Linked DNA regions of Homo sapiens: all the other regions are linked to region 3. Evidence: promoter capture Hi-C in 16 types of primary human blood cells and fetal thymus (Javierre and others, 2016). All regions are on one chromosome and are shown on one strand. The core of a region is centred on a gene start or on the middle of the fragment in contact, and the rest is flanking DNA. Distances in the headings are between cores, read along the strand shown.

The links. The method cuts DNA at HindIII sites, captures the fragments that hold promoters and counts their contacts. A CHiCAGO score of 5 or more calls a contact.
Region 1: a contact is called between a fragment that was not itself captured here and the fragment with the promoter of TTC9 in region 3, in 1 of 17 cell types (total CD4 T cells). The highest score is 5.1, in total CD4 T cells.
Region 2: a contact is called between a fragment that was not itself captured here and the fragment with the promoter of TTC9 in region 3, in 1 of 17 cell types (non-activated CD4 T cells). The highest score is 5.2, in non-activated CD4 T cells.
Region 4: a contact is called between a fragment that was not itself captured here and the fragment with the promoter of TTC9 in region 3, in 7 of 17 cell types (total B cells, naive CD4 T cells, activated CD4 T cells and 4 more). The highest score is 7.7, in total B cells.

The regions. Positions count from the first base shown.
Region 1 is chr14:70,872,482-70,875,805 of GRCh38, reverse strand. No RefSeq gene overlaps it. Among named protein-coding and RNA genes, the nearest start is that of PCNX1, 33 kb to the left of the region's middle. RefSeq lists an enhancer at 3,074-3,153. The HindIII fragment of the contact is 8,273 bases long and covers 1-3,324 here.
Region 2 is chr14:70,890,196-70,893,320 of GRCh38, reverse strand. No RefSeq gene overlaps it. Among named protein-coding and RNA genes, the nearest start is that of PCNX1, 16 kb to the left of the region's middle. The HindIII fragment of the contact is 2,771 bases long and covers 428-3,125 here.
Region 3 is chr14:70,640,330-70,643,548 of GRCh38, reverse strand. It overlaps TTC9 (tetratricopeptide repeat domain 9), which reads right to left and starts at 1,633. Exons shown (of 3, transcript NM_015351.2): 1 at 1,014-1,633. The coding sequence starts at 1,419. TTC9-DT (TTC9 divergent transcript) reads left to right here and starts at 2,251. Exons shown (of 3, transcript NR_110071.1): 1 at 2,251-2,541. RefSeq lists silencers at 1,079-1,148, 1,169-1,358, 1,579-1,728 and enhancers at 2,199-2,458, 2,559-2,738. The HindIII fragment of the contact is 1,411 bases long and covers 389-1,799 here.
Region 4 is chr14:70,820,886-70,824,239 of GRCh38, reverse strand. LOC124903341 (a long non-coding RNA gene) reads right to left here and starts at 2,367. Exons shown (of 2, transcript XR_007064246.1): 1 at 2,118-2,367; 2 at 256-420. RefSeq lists a silencer at 2,248-2,447. The HindIII fragment of the contact is 2,143 bases long and covers 783-2,925 here.

The DNA.
Region 1 (3,324 bases), core at 283-2,782, 230 kb before region 3:
CCTAATAAACTTGCTTTCACCTTATTGACTTGCCCTGAATTCTTTCTTGCACGAGATCCAAGAACCCTCTTTTGGGGTCTGGATCAGGACCCCTTTCCTGTAACAACAGGATTGATGGCATTTGGATTCCTTTGGAAAATCTGTCTTTAGACAAACAAGGAGAATTTTTAAAGCCTTGCTCTGAGTACCTGTTAGCAGCAATAGTATACAAAAGCAACATATTTTGGGGTCATATCTTCCGAACTTCTGAAACCGCCTTTGCCAAAATCATACCTGAGGAAATTATGACAGTGAAAGAGATCAGACCTAACTGACTCCATCTTGCTTTCAACCTTTAAGTTGTCCTTGTTCATTCCTGGGCGTAGGCTGAACTAACCTTCAGAAGGAATTTAGTTTATAGTTTAACTCTGAAACAAAATTGATAATAGCCCTTTTCCAAAAAAAAAAAAAAAAAAACCCTTCTTGTCTGGGGACCGGTCTGCCTTTATAGGACTAACAAATTAGCTACAAGATTAGAAATTGTGGTTTAGTGACCACACAGCCTCCAGCTGCAAGATTCTTAACCTCCCAAAATTGCTCCTGGGGAAAATATAACTATTGGAAAACCTAAGATCAATGCTTGAGATATTTTGCAGACCCTGCACTCCATGGATCAACTGACTCCACCCAGACTGGTAATCTGGTTCCACCAATTCTATGATCCCATCCAGGAACAGAAGACAACAAGCAAGAAAACTCACTTGACTCCTCTATGATTCCATCTCCAACCTGACCAATCAGCACTCCCTACTTCCCGAGCCCCTACCCGCCAAATTATTTTTAAAAACTCTGATTCCCAAATGCTCGAGGAGACTGATTTGAGTAATAATAAAACTCCATCTCCCGCACAGCCGGCTCTACATGAATTACTCTTTCTCCATTCTAATTCCCCTGTCTTGATAAATTAGCTCTGTCTAGGCAGCTGGCAATGTGAACCTGTTGAGCAGTTATACTTCTTCAATGGCTAGTTTTGTTTAATAAGTAATTCAAGCATAATTGTAAAGAATGAGTAAATAAGGTGAATGTAAATGGCATCAAAATTTATAAATAAATTTATCATAGTTTCCAAAATCTTTTTCAGCAACTTCAAATTTTAAAATCATGTTAAATTAAGTAATTGAAAATTACTTTATTTTCAATTCATTTTAAATTCAATAAAATACTGAAACATTAATTATTAAGCATAGCTTTAGTTTATATACTTCAACATCTTGTTTTTAATACAGTATATAGAAGTTAAATATATTTGGATCTATTAAGAAACATAAAAATCTGGCTGGGCGTGGTGGCTCATGCCTGTAATCCCAGCACTTTGGGAGGCCAAGGCGGGCAGATCACCTGAGGTCAGGAGTTTGAGACCAACCTGGCCAACATGGCGAAACGCCATCTCTACTAAAAATACAAAAATTAGGCGGGCATGGTGGTGTGCGCCTGCAATTCCAGCTACTTGGGAGGCGGAGACAGGAGAATTGCTTGAACCCAGGAGGCAGAAGTTGCAGTGAGCTGAGATCATGCCACCGCACTCCAGCCTGGATGACAGAGCAAGACTCTATCTCAAAATAAATAAATGGATAAATAAATAAGAAGAAACATAAAAAATTGAGGAAACATTTCTTTCTAAAAATTAGGAAATGGCTTTCATCTACAAATACTGATATAAAACAGTTTAAAATGGATTACTTCCTTGATTGTTCACTGGAAATTAATGTTACTAAGAGTTAAAATTATGATTAATGTATATAATTAAAATATGGTACATATATGTTTACTATATGTGAAATGGGTGGAGTTCCCTTATCACCTTCACAGGGTATGTGACAGGGGTGTGGCTTGCCTCTTCAGGGCCCTACTTCTCAAACCCTAGGGGAGCATGCAGACGGGTGGGTCATGGAGAGCATTTTTGGGCTCTGACCCACAGCAGAGTCTAGGGTTGAGGGTTTGCAGCTCCCGAAGCCCCAGCGGGAGTGTGTTACAGTATATTCTTTCAGCTTTGCCATCTGCTGGTGGCTTGTGTTAATCAGCTCAATTAGACCCTTTGCCCTATCACAAGGACAAAGGGTTTCTGTAGCCTGGGTTCTTGCTCTAGTGTACTGGAAAAATCGGATCACATGTGGACTTGGAGAATGAGTGCAAGGTTTTATTGAGTGGTGGAAGTAGCTCTCAGTGAGATGGATGGGGAGCAAGAAAAAGGATGGAGTGGGAAAGTGGTCTTCCCTGGACTTGGGCCATCCAGCAGCTAGACTTTCCTCCAACCACCCTGGCCGAATTCCTCTTGGTGTCATGTCGTTCTGCCTTCAATGGCCTGCTGGTGTCTGCTGGTGTCTGTCTTCTGCTTCTCTCAATGTCCAGCTGCTTGTGTGTGTGCCCGCTGGGGTCTCAGGTTTTTATGGGCACAGGATGTGGGGGGTGTGGTGGCCCAAAAGGCAACATTTTGGGTGTGAAAACAGAAACATCTGTCCTCATTTAGGTCCGTGGGCACAGGCTCGAGGATGGAGCCCTCATCAGGGACCCCCCCCTTCTCTACCCAGCACTTCCCTGCCCCCCTTCCCATAGCATATGCCTATATACAATACATATTATATATAACATACATAATATATACATATAGTACATATGGGTACTATATGTATGTGCTATACAGAATATATAGTACATTTATAGTATATATATGGACAGAAATATACTATACATATAATATAGCATGTATGTAGTGTAGTATGAACTATACTGAATATATGTACTATACATATATTCTATAGTACATATATTCTGTATTGTACATATATATGTATTGCATGTATGTACTATACAGAATTATTTCTTTTGTTTTTAGTTACATATATGTAATATGTACTACTGATGAAGGCAGGAGACAAATTCCTAGGCAGATAGGGAAGAGTCCCTAGGCTAAAACCTCACTTTCAAGCCTAAAATAGCCTGAAGGCTGAAAGACTGGAGTGCTGGTCTAGGATGAAACCTGTGACCCAGAGGGAGAACTTCTGCCCCTGTTTGCCCACGCTTTCCCAATTGATTCTTTCTGAATAATGCCTTTTAACCCATTGAATGCTGCCTTTTCTGATACTACCTATGGCTTGCCTGGGCATGCCTACGTGTGCACTGGGGGACTGGGGGGCCACAAGCAATTCATGCCTTATTCAGGGGAGGAGCCTGGCCTCATAAGCTCATGTGCGGTGGCCCTGGTTTTCAATTGTGAGGGAGAAACCTGCTTGGAGATCCCCTCTCTTTGCTGAGAGCTTTCCTTTCACTTAATAAATTCTTCCCTCC
Region 2 (3,125 bases), core at 564-3,063, 250 kb before region 3:
CGGATACTGCTGAGTATCTCATGGAAGATAAAAATCTCTTCTCCTCCCCGTCATTGAAACCTATTGTGTAGATGTAGATCTTTATTTAGTGCGAACTCATATCCTGTGTTCTTGCATCAAAACATGCCTTTTTTAACCTTAAAAAAAAGCAACAGCACAAGTTTGTGTAAAAATGACTCCCAAACATTTCAAGTGTTTCTACTATCACACTAGGTTGTCCAACCTCCAAATTTCTGGGGAGTGGCTAGGAGTGATGCTGCAGCAAATTCCCAGTTTTTCAAGAATGTTTACACTGTATTTGTGTCATAAGAGTGCTTCAGTTTTCTATTGCCTATATCTACAGACATTGTAGTGGTATCACCATTAACAGAACACTGCAGTTTTGACCTTACATACACATAAAAATTGAGAGTTGGTTATACAAGCTTTCCCTATAAGCAAGAGTCCATTAGAAGTTTCATTATAAGTGAAGGGTATGTGTTAGGGTTGAGTACCCAGCTTTGATACACAGCAGGGCTTAAATGTAGTATGTGCACTACCATAGTCAGATCTATCAGGAAGGCTGCACGATGAGCCACATTCTCCACTGATGTCTTTTGGAGATACTCAAAATGGATGATATTCACACAAGCAGGCACACTGTCATAGGAAAACTCAGATTCAAACTTTGGTGAAACCCAGTATTTTCCAGGGAGGAAAGCAAGGCAATAACTTATAATCACAAAAACTATTATTATCTCCACCAGCCATGGTCTTTTAGTGCTACTGCACAGATATAACTGATGTGTGTGATTCCCCAGATAGCTTGCTGCAATTTGACCTATTCTTTCTGCTCAAAAAATGCACTTCAGGCCAGGCGCGGTGGCTCTCACCTGTAATCTAAGCACTTTCGGAGGCCGAGGCAGGTGGATCCCCTGAGATCAGGAGTTCAAGACCAGCCTGGCCAACATGGCAAATCCCCATCTCTACTGAACATACAAAAATCAGCCAGGCTTGGTGGTGCATGCCTGTAATCCCAGCTACCAGTTCTGAGGGGGAGCTGAGGCAAAAGTATCACTTGAACCTGGGAGGTGGAGGTTGCAGTGAGCCGAGATCGTGCCACTGCACTCCAGCCTGGGCAACAGAGCAAGACTCCATCTCAAAAAAAAAAAAAAATGCACTTCAATACAAGAAAATGAGAGACTCTTGACTTATGATTCTAAATTATCACCATCAAATATAATTCTTTTGTTAATGACGAATTCTTGTGTGAAACGTCTCACAACTGAATGCCATACAGTGGAATAGAACCTGTTTACTGGGAAGGGTGTAGGATTGGGATTCAGAGAGACTGTGTTCATTTCTGGATTGTAACTCACTACCTGTTGCTTAAGAAAGCAAGTCTATTTCCTCATCTGTGGAATGCATAAAATGACCCCTTTATCTCAGGCTTACTGAGAGAATTAAATCAGGTTTGAAACAGTATGCTGTAAATTGCCAGGCAAGTGTCAATCATTGTCATTGTCTCCCACAGCTGCCAGTTCCTTGCATGGGCCACCATGTCTGTAGCATAGCCCCATAGAGTGTCTAGATTTTTCCTGCTACAAGCCCACAGAAGAGCCTCCTCAGTGATGCAATACATACGTTAATTTCTTAAGGTTAAAAAATAATTTCTCTAAATTGAGGTGAGTTGATATACTTTTCCAACCCAAATATCAGGTCTACTTCAGCAGCTGCTAAAGGAAAGAAATTACCCCTGCTCCTATTTCTCTCTGCTCCTGCAGAGTAAAACAGCAGCTAAAAACCAAGATTCTCTGACACTATTTCCTTTCTCAGCATTATAGGCCAGTATCCTGGGATCTGACATTAACCATTAGGAATTTCTTCAGCAGCAGCAGACTGGGAAAAGCAACTGCCAGTACTAAAGGAATACATTAAAACTCTTTTAAAAAAAAAAGTCACGAAGATAGTTGGATATGCTGAGTTGACTCAGACTCTTCAATATAGAGCAGTCATCTTGATGGCAACATTCATCCTGACTACGCTAAACAGGTGACCTATTCTATCAGCGATGGTGTCCAGAGCCATTGAAACACAATGTACATCATTATGTCATATACGAGGGGAAAGTTGACTAAGGTTCCAAGATCCCAAGGGTTTTAATTAATAGGAAAATTTGATTCAATAATAGTCATTTAAAAAAATGGAAGGAAAACAAGGGGAGGGAGTGATAAGGGTGGGAAGCATAGACAGGAAGCTGTATAAAATGCCCTGAAGGCTTGAAGTTGGCACTACTATAAGTCAGGGCCAGATTAGCTAGGGGACTGAAATAGCCGCAGAGAAAGAGTCCAGGAGCTACCAACACAACCATTCTAATCATGTTCTTCTCTTATCAAGCAAACTCCACTTCCTTTCTTTATCATCTACTTTATAAGTGCTCACTAGTGGCTCCACTACCAGCTTCCCCTGCAGAACTGAGAGGCTCAACTATTCCTGTTGGGGTAAAAATGATGAGAAAAATATCTCAGGATATTTCTGACTCTCTTCTCTCCACCCCCATGAACATCTCCCACCCCCAGGGCCCCAATTCTGCTTTTCTTCACTTAAAAAACTTCAAGCCAGGCCAGGTGCAGCGGCTAATGCCTGTAATCCCAACATTTTGAGAGGTTCAGGTGGGCAGATCCCTTGGGCTCAGGAGTTCGAGACCAGCCTGGGCAACATGGCAAAACCCTGTCTCTACAAAAAATATAAAAAATGAACTGGGCATGGTGGTGTGCATCTGCAATCCCAGCTGGGGCTACCCAGGAGGCTGAGGCGGGAGGATCAACTGATCTTGAGAGGTCAAGGCTGCAGTGAACCGTGATTACACCACTGCATTACAGCTTGGGCGATGGAGTGAAACCCTGTCTCAGAAAAAATTTAAACCCTCAAATCATCCCTCTTCGGTGAAGCCTTCCTTGACCTCTCCAGCACTTACTAATTTTTATTTTTCTTAATACCTATGACTTGTACATAACACAGTAAATGGACACAGTAGACATATTTCTGTCTCATGTGTGCTGACCTTTTCTTCTCAAATAGATTATAAACACTTTGAGGACGGGACTCATTTTAAACTTCTTGAAATCATCTGCCAAATTCTGTGA
Region 3 (3,219 bases), core at 384-2,883:
AACTGCCCTTTGTTTGGTCGGAGAAGGTTGACCATGCCAGAATCTCACCAAATGGGGCAAGAGAAGAGGAGAGAATGCTTTTTAAGTTGCCTTTGCCAACCTCTCCCACCTTCTCCCAGGAAGGCCCTAGCAAGAGCCAGACTCTTCTTTTTTTAAGAGACTTTAAATATTCCTGCGCCTAAATTAAACAATTTTTAAATCCCTGATTTTGGCTCTTATCCCCAAAGGGAATGTTGGAATGTACACCTTCTTTGCCCAAGAGTAGGGCCCCCTTTTCCTTCACCCCTAGCAGCCAGCTGGCGTGAGGACTGATGCTACACATAGTGAGAAACGGGCAGGGAGGAGAGGGAGAATGCAGCATAGTTCAAGCCCAACCATGAACCAAGCTTCTTTTGAGATAGAGATCTTCACCTGGCAACCGGGAGCCCCAGCAGAGCTCAGAGAGAAGAAAGTGGCATTCTGGAATCCATTTTGCTCAAGATGCTGAAGGCATGGTGTCAAACTCCCCTTTGCTACTGGGGCCAAAAAACTTGGGGAAGATCTTACCTACAGGGATGCGGTTAGTTGGGGAAAAGGCGAGGACCAATCCTGGTGCTCATGCTACCTAAGGAGAGCAGACAGGTGCGTGGCCTCCCTTGGGACCCACCCGCAGGAAAAAGCTGGGCTAGCGGTGGCTGCGGGGGCCCACCCCGGGCGCTGCTTCCGCATTTTGGACCCAGGTCCACTGGTGAGCAGTAGCAGCAGCAGCCATAGCCAGGCCAGCTGGGTCCCCTTCCAGTCATTTCTAGGTGAGATTTACGATGTATGCTAGCGAAGGGACAAGAGATGATTATGGCCTTTGAAAGGCATAATCCTGAAAGTCACACTTTTTCCAAAGCGCCTCCCTCCCGGGTTCTCCCCAGAGCAACACAGTCACAGCAGGAGAATCTGCACCGCGGGAGCGCCGCAGTGGTCCGCGGAGGGACCGGGCCGAAGAACGGGGACCGCGGCGCGGGGGGCGCGGCGCGGCTCACCTGCCAGGCTGTTGTAACAGTCGATCTCGATGGCTTCCACCGTCTTGCTCTGCTCCTCCGAGAGGCGGCCGGGCTTCAGGGCCCCAGCCGGGGAGGCCGGGCGCGAGTCCCGCTCCCGTTCCCCGGGGGGCGGCAGCAGCCCCTTCAGCTCCAGCAACGCCCGGTGGTATTTGCCTATGGCTTCACGGAATTTCTTGTCCTTGTAGCACTGCGCCCCTTGGCTTTTGAACTCGTGCGCTCGTCGGATGAGCTCGGCCGGCTCGGCCGCCGCCCCGACCTGGCCCCTCGCTGGGGCTCCTCCGCCGCCGCCCGGGACGCACAGCGGCGGCGGTGGCCGCTGCCCCTCTCCGGCCGCGGGCGGGCTCGGGTTCCCCTTGGCCCCGGCCGCCGAGCCCTTTCTCTCCATTCGGCCGCCGCCCCGGCGCCTGGTGCGCGCCGCGATCTGCCCGCCGCCGCCGCCGCCGCCGCGCCTTCCCGGGTTTAAAAGCCGCGGGCGCCGGCCCCGCGCCTCGCAGGCTTCGTGGCGGCCGTGACACCCCGCGGCGGTCTGGCGCCCCGCACTCCCATTCTCCCCGCTGCTGCCAGAGGCTGCTCCAGCCGCCGCCGCCGCCGCCTCGGACGCCGGCCCCTCCCCCGCCTCCCGGCTCCGCGCCGCCCGCTCCCGCCCTCCTCCCTCCGCAACCTGCGGGTGGCGGGGGCCGGTGCTCGCGGGCCCGGGACTAGCGCTGCGGGGGGACCGTGGCCCCGAGTGGGGTGGCGGGGATGGTCGCTGACCCGGAAGAAGCTTGGCTTGCCCGAAGGAGGGGAGGATTAATGACAAAGACGGCCCCGCTCTTTCCCATTCAATCCCGCTCTGCGAGGCGCGCCTAGTCTGAAAGGAGGTGGGGGGAGGGGGGTAGGTGTAGGGGAAGGGGAGTGTGTGTGTGTGCGTGTGTGTGTGTGTGTGTGCGTGCGTGTAGGGATGGGGGGCGGCGGCGACGAAATGCGTGCAGAAATAGATTTCTTAACTACAAGAAAAGGTGCGGCAGGGAACAAGGGGCGCAGGCGCAAGCCGTAGCTGCTAGTTCTTTGCAGTAAGGTGTTAGTATTTTTTAAGGGGGCAGGGCCTCCTTTTTGTGGATCCAGGTTGTCGCTGAGGTGTGTCTCGGTGTGTGTGGTCGCCGGGGCGTCCAGAACGCGACGGGCGGTACAGCGTGTGGGGCGCCGTATTCTGGGAGCCTGTGTATGCGTGTGCTGTGTGCGCGCAGCTGTGCAGGATGAATCACAGACATCAGAGATGGAGAACACCTGTTACTGTGGGTCATCGGCTTGGCGTGCGTCCGGTCTAGTTTCCATTTACAGGACAGTTCTGTGCCCTTCCTCAGGAGGTCCCATTCCTTCCTTCTTTTGGTCGGTTCTGAGTGTCAGCTGTCTACTGGGGATCTGCTAAGGCTAAGAGGCAAAGATAGGCAAGTCACTCCCCTGACCTCAAGAAACTCCCAGTCTACAGGCGAAGATACACCACCCACCGGTAGAGTCGCTGGACCAGGTACAGATGGTGCCTGTCATTGGGGAGGAACGAAAAGTGCTGTGCAGCCCTGAGGGGGGGAGGGAGAGGTAGCTTTTTGAGTAGTGGTAGATCAGGAGGCTTTATGGAGGAAATAGCATTTGAGGACCTTGAAGGCTGGGTAGGATTTGGCATGAAGAAGTAGAAGGAAGTGGCATAGCCGGAGTGAGGAAATCCAGCGGAAGTCCTGATGTTTGAAATCTCAGGTGTGTTTAGGGCATAGTGGTTTGATTTTATAGCCTAATGAGAAGTAGTGGGAAATGACGGGGTTGGATTATGGGGGCTTTTGGATGAAGAGTTTGGATTTGATTTTGGAGTCAATGGAGAAGCCTGACATATTTTTTAGTGCCCTCCCTTCCTTAATGTTAAGAAAAAGAAAGATTCTAGAGCACCGGTTGTCAGAGTGCTGGCCCCAGACCTGCAGTGTCAGCATCACCTGGGAAACAGTTAGAAATGCAAATCCTAGGATCCTACTCCAGACTTAAGAAATCAGAAACTCTGAGGGTGGGTCTCAGTTAACCAGTATATTGGTTCAGATATGCTGCTTTAAAACCTTCCTACTCAAAATGTAGACCTTGGGCCAATATCATCAGCATCACAGGAGAACCTATCAGAAATGCAGAATCTGAAAATCCCACACCTACTAACCCAGAAGCTGCA
Region 4 (3,354 bases), core at 605-3,104, 180 kb before region 3:
GTTTTGCCATATTGCCTATGCTGGTCTCAGAACTCCTTGGGCTCAAGTGATTCACTTGCCTCGGCCTCCCAAAGTGCAGGGATTACAGGCATGAGCCACTGCACCCGGTCGGAGCTAGGTCTTAAAGGATAGGTAAGACTTCATCAGGCAGGAGAAGCTGTGTTTGCAGGAAATGGTGGGATTATGGCAGGGTGACTACGAGGACATGGAATTATAATATGGCTGAGGGTGACAGAACTATCATCAGACGCCGTCTTGTGTCATCAGACTCCTTGTATTTATGCTGCAGAGGCCACACTTGGCAGGCTGATTTCAGGGGCATCAATCAAGAAGTCTCTGTGAAGTCACAGGCTTTCAAGATTCTTCTTCCCTTGCTTGCTGGGAGTGGCTGTTCCTCTGTTCACCTCCATTTCTTCAGAGCTGGAAGAGATGTGAGAATGATCTGGTGCAATCCCCTGCACCATGGTTGGTATGGATGGGTATCCCCATGTTATAAATGAGGCAACCGCGGCCGAGAGAAGCTGCAGCCAGTCCTTGGGGACGCGGCACCCAGGACTGCTTCTCCTAGAATTCAAGATGCTTCTTTTCTTTCCTCCCTTTTAGGTTTCAAATCTCTATTTCAGGCAATACTTGATATATTATGTATTTATAATTCAAGTTTTCAGACTTTTCTTAGCAGCAGGTTATAAAAAGGAGAGAAGCAGAAGCTGAGACAGGGAGGAAGCAAACAGAATGGGGCAGAGGTGGGAGTGGGAGGCTGAAGGCTTCCAGGAAGATAAGCTTCCTCGACTGTTAGTGGATTCCGCATCTGCGGCAATTCTACCCCCATCCGGACTAGAGGCTTTGGGACTACTGAGAACCAGGACCACCTATTTTCACAGCAAATGCCTGGAAGGAACCCAGGTGTCACATGTTGAGGGTTTATCAGAATAAATGGCTGTTATTTTCTTTTCCTCTTCCCTTTCCTTCTCACCTACCCTTATTAGTGATCTAGTGTCATAGCTGCAGAGTGACAGCAGGGAGACAGGAGTGAGCGGAGAGTGTGGGACAGAGGGGAAGAAAGAGAAACAGGCCATACGCAGACCTACAGGCAGCTCCTGAGCTACCCAGATCGCTTCTCCTGTACAGGAAGAGCTGCTGGCCCGAGGGAAGGGAAGAGGGGGTCCCTGTTGGAGCAACTGGAGTGGCAGGAGGCGAGTGGGTCGAGGGAGAGTTATTAATATGCACTAGAACACATATTTACAACTGGTGGCTTAAATTAAGGGCAGCACATTCACACCTAGCTACTCCCAGGCTTCCCACAAAGACATCTGAAGCGTGCAAAGCGCGCTCCCTGAGCCCAGCCCACCAAGGGGCGCGGCCCGCCTTGGTAGGGACAAGGTCTCTGGCGCTGGCCTGAGCGGCTGCGGGAGTTCGCTCCTGGGAGAGCGCAGCGAAACCGAGGGCATCCTTCCCTGTAAGAGGAGGGGGCGGAGGAAGGGAGGAGGGGAGGAAGGAAGGAGGGGAGGAGGGGAGGAGGAGAGGAGGAGGGAAGAAGGAAAGTGGGGGTGAAGGGAAGGAGGAAAGGAGGCGGGGAGGGAGAGACGGAGGAAGAGAGGGTGGGAAGAAGGAAGGAGAGAGAGAGGGCGAAGAGGGGAGAGAGGGGCGAACGAGAGAGATGTGGGGAGAGGGGAGAGGAGAGGGACGGGGCAGGGGAGGGGAGAGCGAGGGAAGAGAGAAAAAGAGAGAACGCAAGGGGGTCGGGGAGAAGAGAGAGGAGAGCGAGAGAGAGCGGGAGGAGAGGGGGAGGGAGAGAGACGGGGGAGAGCGAGACAGAGCGTGGGGAGACGGGGAGAGGGGAGAGCGAGAGAGCCAGGGGAGACGAGGAGCGAGCGAGAGGAGAGGGGAAGAGAGAGAGAAGGGGGAAAGCAAGAGAGTGGGGGGAAAGCGAGAGAGAGAGAGGGGAGAGACAGAGGGCGGGGGAGAGCGAGCGCGAGCGAGGGGAGGGGAGAGAGAGAGGCGCGCGCTGGTTGCTCCCGCGAAACCCTAAGCTCCGCCAGCGCTATTGCCCCTCCCGCTGCCAGCCCCGCGTCCACGTGGGGAAACTGTCCCTCCTGTGCCGGGAAGAAACGACTCACCGCCTTGCAGAGGCGCGGAAGCTGTGCGCGGGACGCCACGGCCCCGAAGCCGCGAGTGACCGCAGCTCCGATCCCCCGGCGGGAGGCCTGCCCGAGCGTGGGAGCCGAGCCCAGGGCCCTTTCTCCGCACTGGCTGCGGACCTAACCCTTCCTGGGCCCCTCCTCCCCCTGGGGAGAGAACGTCAGCGCCGAGGATCCTGATGCGGGGGCGCGGTGGCGCCGACCGAGAGCCCGCCCGGTCCCCGTGTTGGGGGGCAGAAGGGGAGGGGTGGGCCGCAAGGGGCGGAGAGGGCCCGGCGTCCCAGCTGGGATGGAGTTACCAGAATGGGGTTCGAGGCAGCCTAACCCTCCGCGCTGAGTCCTGGAAGGCAGCCTCTGTATGTAGCTCGGTGCATTTTGCACGAAGATAGGCTGCTCCCGGCGGGGTAGGGGGTCGGGGAAAGGTCCTCCTGGGGGTAAACTGATCAGAGAGCCGATAATGGATTCTGGCTCCGACACACGCCACCCCTGCTTGCTTAGTGGCTCTGCACCCCACTTTTTATATAAAGTGGTTATTCAAAGTACCTAGCACATAGGTTTTTTGGTGAATATTGAATGGGAAGGGCAGGTGAAGTCCTTGGCACAGGCCCGGCACACCGACCGATGGACCCAAGAATGTCAATTATTTTTGCTGTTATTCCCTCCAACCTCAGCTGTCCTTTCTCAGAAGCAAAGCTAGGAGACACCAGAAGAGCCGGTGCGAAAGTTTGGCTTGTTTTAACATAAAACCCACACTCCCTAAGGAAGTGGATTCTGAGTGGGAAAAGCTTTGGAGTCAGAAGCAGGAACCCCTGATTGGGTCTTGGGCTTCTGTTCCTTAGTACTGTTCCTTAGTACTTAGCCACACTGAATAAACTCCCTGGGCTTCCGTTTCCTTATTAGTAAAATTGGCTAAAAAGTCCCAACCAGGTAGTACGATCCCTTCTGCCTTTATTGAGGGCTCACTATGTTCTAGGCACTGCTCTTAGGGCTGCCTCCGTATTATCTCAGTTAATCTCTAAGCTAGTTTAGGAGGTAGTTAGGATTATTTAAAATCTCCATTTTGCACTTGAAGAAACCAAGACTTAACAGAGAGGCTAAGTAAATTGTCCTAGACCACACAGTGAGTCATGGCAGAACTGGACAGAACTGAGATTCAACTCAGGCAACCTGGTTCCAGAGTCTGTATTTTTTTTTTAATAGACAAGGTCTTACTCCC